3 separate regions of the Homo sapiens genome follow, and regions 1 and 3 are each linked to region 2. Evidence: promoter capture Hi-C in 16 types of primary human blood cells and fetal thymus (Javierre and others, 2016). All regions are on one chromosome and are shown on one strand. The core of a region is centred on a gene start or on the middle of the fragment in contact, and the rest is flanking DNA. Distances in the headings are between cores, read along the strand shown. Region 1 overlaps BCCIP (BRCA2 and CDKN1A interacting protein). Region 2 holds the start of C10orf88 (chromosome 10 open reading frame 88). Region 3 overlaps DHX32 (DEAH-box helicase 32 (putative)).

Region 1 (3,820 bases), core at 566-3,065, 2.9 Mb before region 2:
CCCAATGGATCTCTCCTTGGACATGCTCTTCTGACAAAGTGACCTAGGTACTTTTCTCATGGAGTGGTGGGATCAATGTGCCCTCCCCCTAGATAGAAATTTCTATCTGTAAAGACTAAGCAAATGGTGGAAATGGCACTATATCACTTCTGCCTGCTTCTTTTGGGCAGCTTGCTCTTGGAAGCAAACCAATGTGTGACGAGGCCCACATGGAGAAGAACTAAGGCCCCTGGTCCAGAGTCCCAGCTAAGCTCCCGACAGACAGCTAGGGCTAACTTGCCAGTCATGTGAGTGAGCCATCTTGAAAGGGAATCCTCCAGCCCCTAGTCAAGCCACCCCAGCTAACATGATGGAGCAGGAGCACAGATGAGTTGTGCCCACTGAGCTCTGTCCAAACTGTAGATCCATTAGCCAAATAAATGACTACTGCTATTTTACGACACTAAGCTATGGGGTGGTTTGTTATACAAACAACAGATAACCCAAAGAACCACCAGATGATAAGCAGCAGACCCAGGGTCTAAACCAGTCCTTATTTTGTTGAGCTCTCTACAACATCTATCTGATAAAGATGACCATCCCCTCCTCCTTCAAATGTTATCTTTCTTGCTGTGTATGACATCACTGCACTATTGTTTCTTCTACTTCTCCTGTCATCCCTTTTAATCTCCTTTGCTGGCTCTGCCACTTATATTACTCATCGAAGTATTCTTGGTATTACTAAGGTGTCTGTCCCTTCCCTCCCTGCGCAATCTCAATCACTTCTACGACCTCAGTAACATTTACGACCAACTCCCAAGTCTCCAGGGCTCCACCTGCTACCCGGTATCTCACAGGTAACTCAAACTCAAAATGTACAAATCCAAATTCACATTCCCCCTCCTAATTTGACCTTCCTCCATGTTTGTTATCCTGTTTGCTCAAGCTAGAAACCTGGAAGTCATCCTTGACTCCTTTTCCTCTCACTTTCAGACCCAATCAGGGACTAAACCTCATCATATTTCATCTCCCAAATATTTTCTAAATGAGCCCACTTCTCTCCCTCTCCATTGCCCCCACCTGGACTACTGCATTTAATAAGCTTGGATTTCTGCAATGACTTCTGATCAGTCTCCATTCCTCCAGTAATACTGCTTCCAATTTGAGCTAAACAGAATAAAGAACTTTTTTTTTTTTTTTTTTTTTTTTTCAGATATAGGGTCTTGCTGTGTTGCCCGGCTAGAGTGCAGCGGCACAAAGCTCACCATGGCCTTCAACTTCTTGGCTCAAGAGATCCTCCTACCTCAGCCACCTGGGTAAAAAGACTACAGGCATGTGCTACTATGCCCGGCTAATTTTTTGTTATTTTTTGTAGAGACAGAGTATTGCTATATTGCCCAGGATGGTCTTGAACTCCTGGCCTCAAGCAATCCTCCCACCTTTGCTTCCCAAAGTGCTGGGATTACAAGCATGGTGAGGCCCAGCATGAACAGAATAAAGAACTCATTTAATCAGAATAAACACAATTATCCTACTTACCTTAATCACACTCCCAATATGGTTCTGTTGAATTAAGAGATCTGTTAGTTCTGCAGTGTTCACAGGAGCCTTTAGAAAAAGCTAAAAGGAGGAAAAAATTATTTTAAATTAAGATCAAAGCATGATTTCTAATAACTTCAAATCCTATATTCAAATACAAACAATGAAATTTCTGTGACTTAAGATGATGATCTAGAAAAGCAACCCCAAGAGGGAAAGAAAAGCCCAGGAGAGTCAAAGAAGCTAAAGATTAGGAAATTTCAGAAAAGAAGAAGTCAGTAGTAATATAGAAGTAATGGGGGAGGGGGAGAAAAAAGGGAGAAACGAGAGAGGATAAACTTAAGGCCAAAGAATTTGGTGAAAAAGACGGTAGAGCTATAAAGGCTAAAGAACCAAAGTCATATTATATGAGTAAAAGAATAAGGAGAAGCAGCAAGCATCAATTTTATAGCACCAAACAGCACAGTTATATGACTGTTACATAAGAATTGTGAATTAAAAAAAAAAACAAAATAACTCTAATTAGCAGATGAAAGGAAATAATTCTTCCTTCCAGGCAAGGTGGAGAGGATAGAAATGGAAATTCTAAAAAGATGAACTTGGGAGAGCCTGTATTGAATGACCTGAATTTTCTTTTTTTTTAGAGACAGAGGCTCACTCTGTTGCCCAGACTGGAGCTCAATGGCACATTCATAGCTGCAGCCTTGAGCTCTTAGACTCAAGTAATCCTCCAGCCTCAGCCTCCTGAGGAGTTAGGACTAACGGTGTGTGCTACCACAGTTGGCTAATTTTTAATTTTTTTGTAGAGACAGGTTCTCATTATGTTGCCCAGGCTGGTCTCAAACTCCTGGGCTCAAGCAATCCTCTCACCTCGGCCTTCCAAAATGCTGAGATTATAGGCATGAACCACTGCACCCGGCCCCTGATTTTTCTTAGAAGAGGAAATTTATGCATAATAAATAAAAGACAATACCTGCTGCAGTAATTTCTTAATTCCGTCATAATCATTATCTGATAGGGAATAAGCTTCAAATTCAATATTCACTTCCTGTAAATAACACACAAAATAGTTGTTACCAGAAAAACTACAAACATCTAGACTTTAAAACAGGCAAACATTGCCAAGATTGCCATCTGTGAAGAATACAAAGCACCTTCACACTATTTCTTCAGGTGACACAAAAGCCTGAGAAAACAAAACACTCAGAGTAACCTAGTTTAAATGTTGAGAAAGTCCAGTTCAAATAAACCAGACACGGCAGCCACAAAGGATAAATTATTTTCCTGATTACAAGGGTGGGCAAAAATCAAAATCACTTCAAAAGTCCCTGGAATTGCCTAGAGCTTGACTTAGCCCATGGATTTGAGGTTACACTACATTTGCTTAGCAAATATTTATTAAGTATCAATCCAGGTACCAAGCACTGTGCCAGGCACTCAAGATGAAAAGGTTAGTAAGGCAGACACAAATGATCCTGCTCTCGTGCAGCTTACGATTTAGGAAGGAATATAGGCATTAAGGAAATATTCATAGAAATAAATGTAAGTGCTATAAAACAAAGGTACACAATGTTGTAACAACTTAAAAAATAAGAAGTCAGTCAGGAAAGCCTTCCTTGAAGTGACATTTGAGCAAGAAACCGAGAAACAGCAAAGAGAGTTCCTGGTACAGGGAACAGCACAAACTAAGGCCCTAAGGCAGAAGGAAATACAATGAGTACAAGGGACTAGAAGAATGAATGTGTAGCTGGGCTCCCTGATCTCTATCTGCAAGACAACAGAATCTAGAAGATGGAACTAAAATGCCAAAAACAAAACCTAGTTGCTTTTAAACACTAACAAGATTAGTCCTTGAGGACCCTAAATCAGACCTTGATAAGTGACACAATGAACCTGGGGCTCTGATGAAATAATATATTTAAAGGCACTTCAGGTTTTAACGGTTTCAGAATTTAGGTCTTAGCTGAAGAACATCGCAGAGGAAATCAGACCTCCTTTTACCTTGCCACCCTGACTATGTATATATTTAAGTCTTCCTTAATTGTAAAATTGCAAGGCCCTGGAATTGCTTAGAGCAATTCCAGCTCCAATTTGAACTCTTTAAGTCCAGCTTTGCAGACTTCAAATGCTAACTTAGCCAGATTATGTGAGCAGCAAAACACAAGGGGTCGGGTGGGAGTGTTCCAAACAGGATCAAACTAAACCAAATAACAAACTGTCATTATTCAGGACTTAAACTTATTCCTTAGATATAAATACATTCTGTAAATAATGCTCATCTAGTGTTTTTTTCTTTGTCTAG
Region 2 (3,715 bases), core at 1,152-3,651:
ATTTGGGTGGGGACACAGCCAACCATATCACCAACTATATTTTCTGATTTACTTCAAAGAGAAAAGTAAAGCAAAAAACTCACTTGTAATTCATGACAAGAATAATGTATCATATTAAGATTGAAGTCAGCTTTGAACCATAACCATCCTGGCTTTGGAAAAAAGCTTAAGATTGAATGTACTAATTTTCCTTTTTCTGCTGCTCTTAGTTTATGTGATAAAAGCTGTCACCAACCTATCAATTCCATACAACAAACCTGTACTCAACATAATGTCTATCTCAGCAAGCATGCAGATAGTAGGGAACACAGATATATAAACAGGCAAAGTCTGACATCAAAGGAGAATTATACTACCTAAAAAAGTGGTAATTGTAGCACAGAGGAATTTGTTTAATTCTGTAGCAGGATGAAGTAAGCTTGGTTTCGCATGATAAATAGGATTTTTCCTACTATTGAAAAAAATGGCATTCTAGGTAGAGGAAACTGGAAGGTAGGCAGGGTTCAAAGTACAAAGGACTCTGCATGCTATGCTAAGGAGTGAAGGTGTTGATTCAGTCAGGAACATTGATCACCAGAAGGAGAAGAGGGCAGTGCAAAGACTGAAATGGAAGGAATCAAAATGAAAGCTACTGACAAACTCCTGGAATTGTTCAGATAAAGCTAGTGCTTGGAAACAGAAGAAGCAGAGATAGGAAAATTTTTCTTTAAGAAAATGAAGACTTGGTGGTTTATTGGCTGTATGGAAATAAAGGAAAGGATAGACCATAGGAATCTTTTGTTTTCTGATTCCTGGACATTCAGCTTTATTTAAGGAAGTCAAAATCCAGTTTATAATATTGCTATTGCTCATGAAATTGCAGATTAGTTTCTGAAGAGCCTATTTTCCTTCGGATTGTCCACATGTATTAATGTGGATCAAAGTTAACTTACAACCACAGGAAGCAGGACATACAGGACAAAAATAATGACAAGGACAACTTAGAATGAGTCTGAAATATTAAAAAAATCTTTGCAAACGAGGACTTTACAATTCTGCTATGATAGACCTTTGGTGACATTTCTCTCTTTCAATCTTGGTGAATTCACCTACCATACGTACATTCTGGTGATTACTTATAGAAAAATACATTTGGTCATCATTTTTCTTGCTTTGACACAGGTAAACAGAATGCAAAGTTTATTCTCATTTTTAGCTAGAGGGCACAAGTCCTAGTACATAAACTCAAACGAAAACATAAGCAAAAAGATTAAAGTAATGCGCACTGAGTCATGAACCCAGAATAGACAGCTCTGAAAGAAAATTAGAGTATGGGTGAGCAAAAACGTTATTTCCTAGAGAGGATACCACCTTAAACACAACTTTGGAACTCTAGATTATAGACAAGTGGAATTTCAGAGTTTGCTTTTTTCAAAAGACAGAAAAATAATCTGCACAAGCCTCTACAGGAGGAGGATGAGGGGGCACACTATATACAGTCCCATCCCGTGGGGCATCTAGAAAGTTCCATCTGCTCCCACTGTTCTGCATCCGTAGCCTTAAGTTCCTTCAAGACTGAGTTCATATTCTACTTCAACAGAGTTCTGAGACCCCCCCTTTCCACTCGCTGTTTCCAGTGCCATGAGGAGCGATCTCATGGGGCAGCCCCTGCCTTCGGTGTCTGGGTCTTTCTTGCATTTCAAATTTCTGTCACCTAGAGCGTCCAGCCCTGGATGCCCGGGTTCCTGCGGCCTGAGGGTTGCACATGGGGTCAGGGGGCGTCAGCTGAGACAGCACCCGGCGAAGGCCAGCGTGGCTCAATGCCCATCACAGATGCCCTTCAACCCCAAAACCCCATCATCCGCTTCAGCCCCCCTCTAAAGCGAGAATATGTGTGAGGGAGGCTAGGAGAATTCGAAGTAAAAATAACCCGAATCGGCAGCGCGTCCGCCGCGCTAGCTGCCACAAATGCTGCAGATCCGACGGAATGGAAGCAGAAAAGGCCCTGGCGTCCCCTTGGGAAAGAACGAGGTCAGGAGTCGGTCTTGCACGCAGCGTAGAGCGACGAGACTACACCTACCTGATCACAGACGTTCCACACCAGCTCAGCAACGGTCGTCCACGCCGCTTGCTGTTTCCCCACAGCCAACGTCGAAAACACCCTCGTGCCGGCGCGCAGTGCACCGCGCCTGCGCATAGTCTCCAGCGAAAGAGCAAGGGTCTGCCAGTGCGCATGCTCCGCTCTCGACCTCCTCCCCGCACACTTTGAACGCCGCGCCTGAGGCCAGCTGGCACATGCGCATGCGTGTCTCTGGTGCCTGCTCTCCCCACCAAAGCAAGAAGCGGCGGGTACTTGAAGCGGAGTGAGCCGGAAGTCGCTTTGCCTGCCCATTTCCACGCTGTACCGGCGGAAATTCAAGCACTGGAAGAGAGGTTCCGGGGCTGGGCTGGCCTGACTGAAGGCGGCGGAATGGAGACGCGGACCGAGGACGGGGGCCTCACCCGCCGCCCCACGCTGGCCTCTTCTTGGGATGTTGCAGGCGGGGCCCTGACCCACAGCCTCCTCCTCACCCGGGCCGGTCTCGGCCCCGGTGACTTCGACTGGGAGGAGCTGCTGGCACCGCCTGCTCCAGGGTGCGCCGGGCCGACGGGGACGGGGTCGCTATGCTCGGCAACTGCCGCGCTTCTAGGGGAGCTGTGAGGGGAGGCGAGAGGGTCTGAGCCCGGGATCCGGGAGAGCAGTTGGTACCAGGTCTCTAGTTGGGGAGGGGAGCTGCGAGGTCGTCCGGGGTGGGCGGAGGGGGGTGGGTCCGGCCGGGAAGGGGCCGAGGCTCCTGGGCGTGAGAGGGGGAAGGTGACCCGGACTCGGAATTTCATATAACGTCCCCATCAGGCGTGATAGCCCCTCAGGGCTGCTGTCAAAGTCAGTCCGCCCCTCTACCCTCAAACAAGACACCTCCTGTCCACCAAAACAGGCTGTGTAAAAAGTCCAGCTATAGATGATCGCTGTCGACTTAATTTCGAAAAAGATACACTTTTGTCTTTCATTGTGCCCTGCACCCAGTAGGTGCCCAGTGATTTATGTAATTATCCGAGAGTCAATTGCAGGGGATTGAGTAGAATGTTGATTGAGGAAAAAATAGAGTTTGGGAAAGCCCTGATGTGTGACACCTTCATTTCCGTATGAATTCTGTGTTGAGCGCTTCTTGGATGCTTGGGAAGGTGCTTGGACCTCAAGGGCAAGTGGAAGTGAGTTAGAAGAAAGAAGCCCCGGCCGGGCACGGTGGCTCACACCTGTAATCCCAGCACTTTGGGAGGCCGAGGCGGGCGGATCACGACGTCAGGAGATCAAGACCATCCTGGCTAACACGGCGAAACCCCGTCTCTACGAAAAATACAAAAAATTAGCCGGGCGCGGTGGCGGGTGCCTGTAGTCCCAGCTGCTTGGGAGGCTGAGGCAGGAGAATGGCGTGAACCCGGAAGGCGGAGCGTGCAGTGAGCCGAGATGGAGCCACTGCATTCCAGCCTGGGCGACAGAGCCAGACTCCGTCTCAAAAAAGAAGAGTCATGTTCAGAGAACTATACTGTGTGATGTTTTCACCAATTTTCTTCTCAGTCAGGATCTGGTGATTTTGAAGAGAAACCACAACAACAAAGATGAAAACCCCTGCTTCCTTTACCTGAGGTGTGGCCCTGATGGAGGTGAAGAAATCGCTTCTATTGGCATTTTAAGTTC
Region 3 (3,865 bases), core at 311-2,810, 2.9 Mb before region 2:
ACTTGGACTTCTTAAAGATGTTTTACTAGCAAGACCAGAACTGAAGCTCATAATTAACTCCTCACCTCACCTGATCAGCAAACTCAATTCTTATTATGGAAACGTGCCTGTCATAGAAGTGAAAAATAAACACCCTGTGGAGGTTGTGTACCTTAGTGAGGCTCAAAAGGATTCTTTTGAGTCTATTTTACGCCTTATCTTTGAAATTCACCACTCGGGTGAGAAAGGTGACATTGTAGTCTTTCTGGCCTGTGAACAAGTAAGTAAGTGATACTCTAACCTTACAGTAATAAGGTATTTCATTTGGGAAGCTTTTAATAACTAACATACAGGTTTCAGTTTGCTAATTAACTGTTTAAATATTTGGTTTCATCACACCTCATTAAATAAAACCTGTGCTGAAAGGAGAACAGGAAGTGTTTCTAAAATCACATGCAGTTCTGAAAACAAAATATGGGTGAGGAGTCTCTAGACATGATCTCCAGAGCCAACTTCCCTCCAGCAGGCTCAGGCCAGAGAGTGGCTGCCCCAAAGGCACAGCTGGCTCTATTTATGCTTGCTGTGAATTGTCTCTTGGTACAGTAGGTGCATGCCGACTCCCCTGACATTCTCCACTGCCTCCCTGTGAGCAGGTGTGTTTGTTGGAGATCAGGACTATTACCTAAGCACTCACCATAGAGTTAAGTAACACAACATTTCCCACAAGCAGTCCTGTGATAGTCAGTGGAGTATGGGCAGAAAATATAGCCCACCCGAAAAGGTCATCTCCCTGGACTGGGGCTCCATTCTTAAAAGATTAAAAAAAAAAAAAAAAAACAAACAAACAAACAAAAAAAAAAACCTTTAACTCAGATTTCTTTAAAACATCTCTTTAAAAGAATGACTGGAAATGTGCAATCAAGCATCATTTCCATTCTGTTACTGCTTTTAGACAGCCAAGGTACCATTTGGGGTTGCATTTTTTTTTTAAATTGCAGCTACACTGGCCCTATTTCTTTCCCCACTACTCTGTTGGCTGAATCTAAAAGCCTCCAGGATCTCCAGAATTAGACCTCTCTTCATGGAGACTAATTGCCTGGCCTTTTTTCCCTGTCTTCTCCCACAGAGAGGAGAAGCATGAGTTTTTAGACCATGACCCATATATGTAGTGGTTCTACTCATTAAACAGAAACCAAAAAGGAAATTATTTGATGTAGGCTGAGCCACAGCTGAACAGATAAGTGGCTCAGCTGTCTGTCAGAGCCTTTTCTTGAACATCCACATATTTCAGAAACACTTTCAGAAGTATTTATTCTATTTTATACTCAAAGCATAAAGGATGACAGCTCCTTCTGGCTTTGGGAACTTTAGTTTTCTTAAATGTATCTGTTTCTAGAACCTCAATATGACTGCATATTTATCATTTTTTGTATGTATATGATATACATTCTCTTGAATAGCAAATCTGCCTATTACAGTGATTTATTCTGTTATCATCTCATCCTGCATGATTCAAGATATTCAAGAAAGTCCTGAGGAAAATAATAAAATGATTACGGAGACATAGGATTTATGAAAACAGTTGGAGGTTCTCAGTGTAAACAGATGAAGCCTAAGGAAGGGAAGAATGGCAAATCTAATATATTTGAGAGTCAGAATTGCCAGGTGAAAAACAGGACGTAGGCCGGGCACTGTGGCTCACACCTGTAATGACAGCACTTTGGGAGGCTGAGGCGGGAGGATCACGTGAGGCCAGGAGGTTGAGACCAGCCTTGACAACATAGCAGGACCCTATCTCAACAAAAAAATTAAAAAATTAGCCAGGCATGGTGGCTCAGGCCTGTAGTCCCACCTACTCAGGAAGCTGAGGTGGGAGGATTGCTTGAACTAAGGAGTTTGAGGCTGCAGTGAGCTATGATTGCACCACTGCACTCCAGCCTGGGTGACAGAGCAAGACCCTGTCTCTAGAAAAAAAAAAAAAATGAAAAATTAAAAAAAAAAAACCAGGATATACATTTCTGCAAGAAAAAAATGCAATTAAGACTGATAGGATGGGTGTAATCCTTCAAGTCAGGGTAAGCAAAAATTCCTAAATGGATTTGGAAATGGATTTTGGATCTTGGAAAATAAAGCTCATAACAGAACTGAGGTGCAGATGGTCTTAGAGTACATGATTCTTATAAGTTTAATATAAACTATAATTAATTGTAGAGTGACTTTTGAACTGTCAACTTTAGAACATGCATCATTATCCAGGCTGGTAGTAGAAACTGTAAATGCCACAGGACTTGGAGAGGTATGTAATTTCCCCTGAAGGCAGGCTGGAAAGGCATTCCTATTAAGAAACCATCAGTCTTGCAGTCTTAAAGTGAGAGTGCCATGAAAGCTACCAGAGGATTTTGTAATTCTGAGCCTCTGTGACCCAGGCGGAGCACTGGACCCTCTAAAGGTGAGCTCCTCATTGTTCAGGGGCTCAACAGCCGACCTGCCCTGTGGGTGGGGCAGCAAGCCAGCCACTGACATTGGGCTGGCTTCAGCAGACTTTACCTGGGCACCAGGTTTCTTTCTCCTGCTTCAGCCTTGGATTCCACAGGTGTTATCTGGTTTTCCTTACCCCATCTACTGCCTAACAAGCAGAACACCATTCAGTATACTGATGGACTTTTCTTTTTTACTATTTTTGTCAGGATCCCTCATTAAGATTCTCATCTCTTATGGATTGGGATTTGTGTCTTGGAAAGATTTGTCTTGCACCGAAATCAGTGCTAACAGCTATTGATCATTTCCCCCCATGCTATTTGATGCTTTCTTGATTTCTATATAAAGCTTTAAAACCTACCGTAGCACTTAAATATCATGTGAAAACAAACTCAACCAGTCTAATACAAATGTATTAATTGTCATTTAAAATTTGTATTTATTTACTTAGAGACAGGACCTCACTATGTTGCCTAGGCTGGAGTGCAGTGGTGTGATCTTGGCTCAGTGTGACCTCGAACTCCTGGGCTCAAGCCATCTACCTCTTCAGCCTTCAAAGTAGCTGGGATTACAGGTGTGCACCAGTATGCCCAGCTAGTTTTTGTTTTTTGTTTTTTTTTTGGTAGAGACGGGGTCTAACTATGTTGCCCAGGCTGGTCTTGAACTCCTGGCCTCAAGCAGTTCTCCTGTCTTGGCCTCCCAAAGTGCTGGGATTATAGGCATGAGCCACTGCACCCAGCCCTGCCATTTTTTATATTAAGAAGTATGTTTTAAATTACAGAAATATTCTCAAACATTTTGGTGAAACGGCAGTGCATTTGCCTTAGGTGTGTCACATTTTCTCCAGCCACTTGCCTAGCACCACACCTGCTGTGAATTAATCTCTGTGATTCACAGGCTGCCCTGTGTCTTGGCACTTAATTGAGACTTAGAGCCCTGAATGTTTAGCGTGTTGTTTCCTATCACCTAGCTGTCTTTTAACCGGAAGACAAAATATGAAATAAGCAGAAAACATACATTGAGATTTACGATAATATGTAGCCAGATTACTGTACAGTAATAAACTATCACAAAGGTGTTTTTAGGTTGGAGGTTTTCCTGGGAAATGTTTTATGCAGTTGTGGATCTTCTTTCATTTTTGGTGAGCTAGATGTCTGCTAGATATCGTCCTTCAGTGGGTGTTGCTGTTTTCCGTAACTGTGCAGGTAGTTATAGGAAAGTTATGCGTATGTAAATAAACCACATACATTGAATAAGAATCAAGGAAATGAATAAACAAAATGTCTGAAGTACCAGATGCACATTTTTTAAAGCTTTTCTGCCCCAAATTCTGCAGATTATGGCCTTAAAGCCCTGTATCAGCTGTGCTTGAGGAGCCTAAACTATTTATCTATTTCTGTTTTGCTCT

Evidence for each region. The method cuts DNA at HindIII sites, captures the fragments that hold promoters and counts their contacts. A CHiCAGO score of 5 or more calls a contact.
Region 1: a contact is called between a fragment that was not itself captured here and the fragment with the promoter of C10orf88 in region 2, in 3 of 17 cell types (fetal thymus, non-activated CD4 T cells and monocytes). The highest score is 6.8, in fetal thymus.
Region 3: a fragment that was not itself captured here is called in contact with the fragment with the promoter of C10orf88 in region 2 in 1 of 17 cell types (monocytes); the score reaches 5.8 in monocytes.

Annotation. Positions count from the first base shown.
Region 1 is chr10:125,825,337-125,829,156 of GRCh38, reverse strand. It overlaps BCCIP (BRCA2 and CDKN1A interacting protein), which reads right to left. Exons shown (of 7, transcript NM_078468.3): 2 at 2,492-2,566; 3 at 1,519-1,599. Among named protein-coding and RNA genes, the nearest start is that of BCCIP, 3.7 kb to the right of the region's middle. The HindIII fragment of the contact is 1,463 bases long and covers 1,084-2,546 here.
Region 2 is chr10:122,952,913-122,956,627 of GRCh38, reverse strand. C10orf88 (chromosome 10 open reading frame 88) reads left to right here and starts at 2,401. Exons shown (of 6, transcript NM_024942.4): 1 at 2,401-2,613; 2 at 3,596-3,715. The coding sequence starts at 2,450. LOC124902519 (a long non-coding RNA gene) reads right to left here and starts at 2,186. Exons shown (of 2, transcript XR_007062325.1): 1 at 2,060-2,186. RefSeq lists a silencer at 2,606-2,685. The HindIII fragment of the contact is 5,860 bases long and covers 421-3,715 here.
Region 3 is chr10:125,855,997-125,859,861 of GRCh38, reverse strand. It overlaps DHX32 (DEAH-box helicase 32 (putative)), which reads left to right. Exons shown (of 11, transcript NM_018180.3): 3 at 1-259. Among named protein-coding and RNA genes, the nearest start is that of DHX32, 23 kb to the left of the region's middle. The HindIII fragment of the contact is 2,494 bases long and covers 314-2,807 here.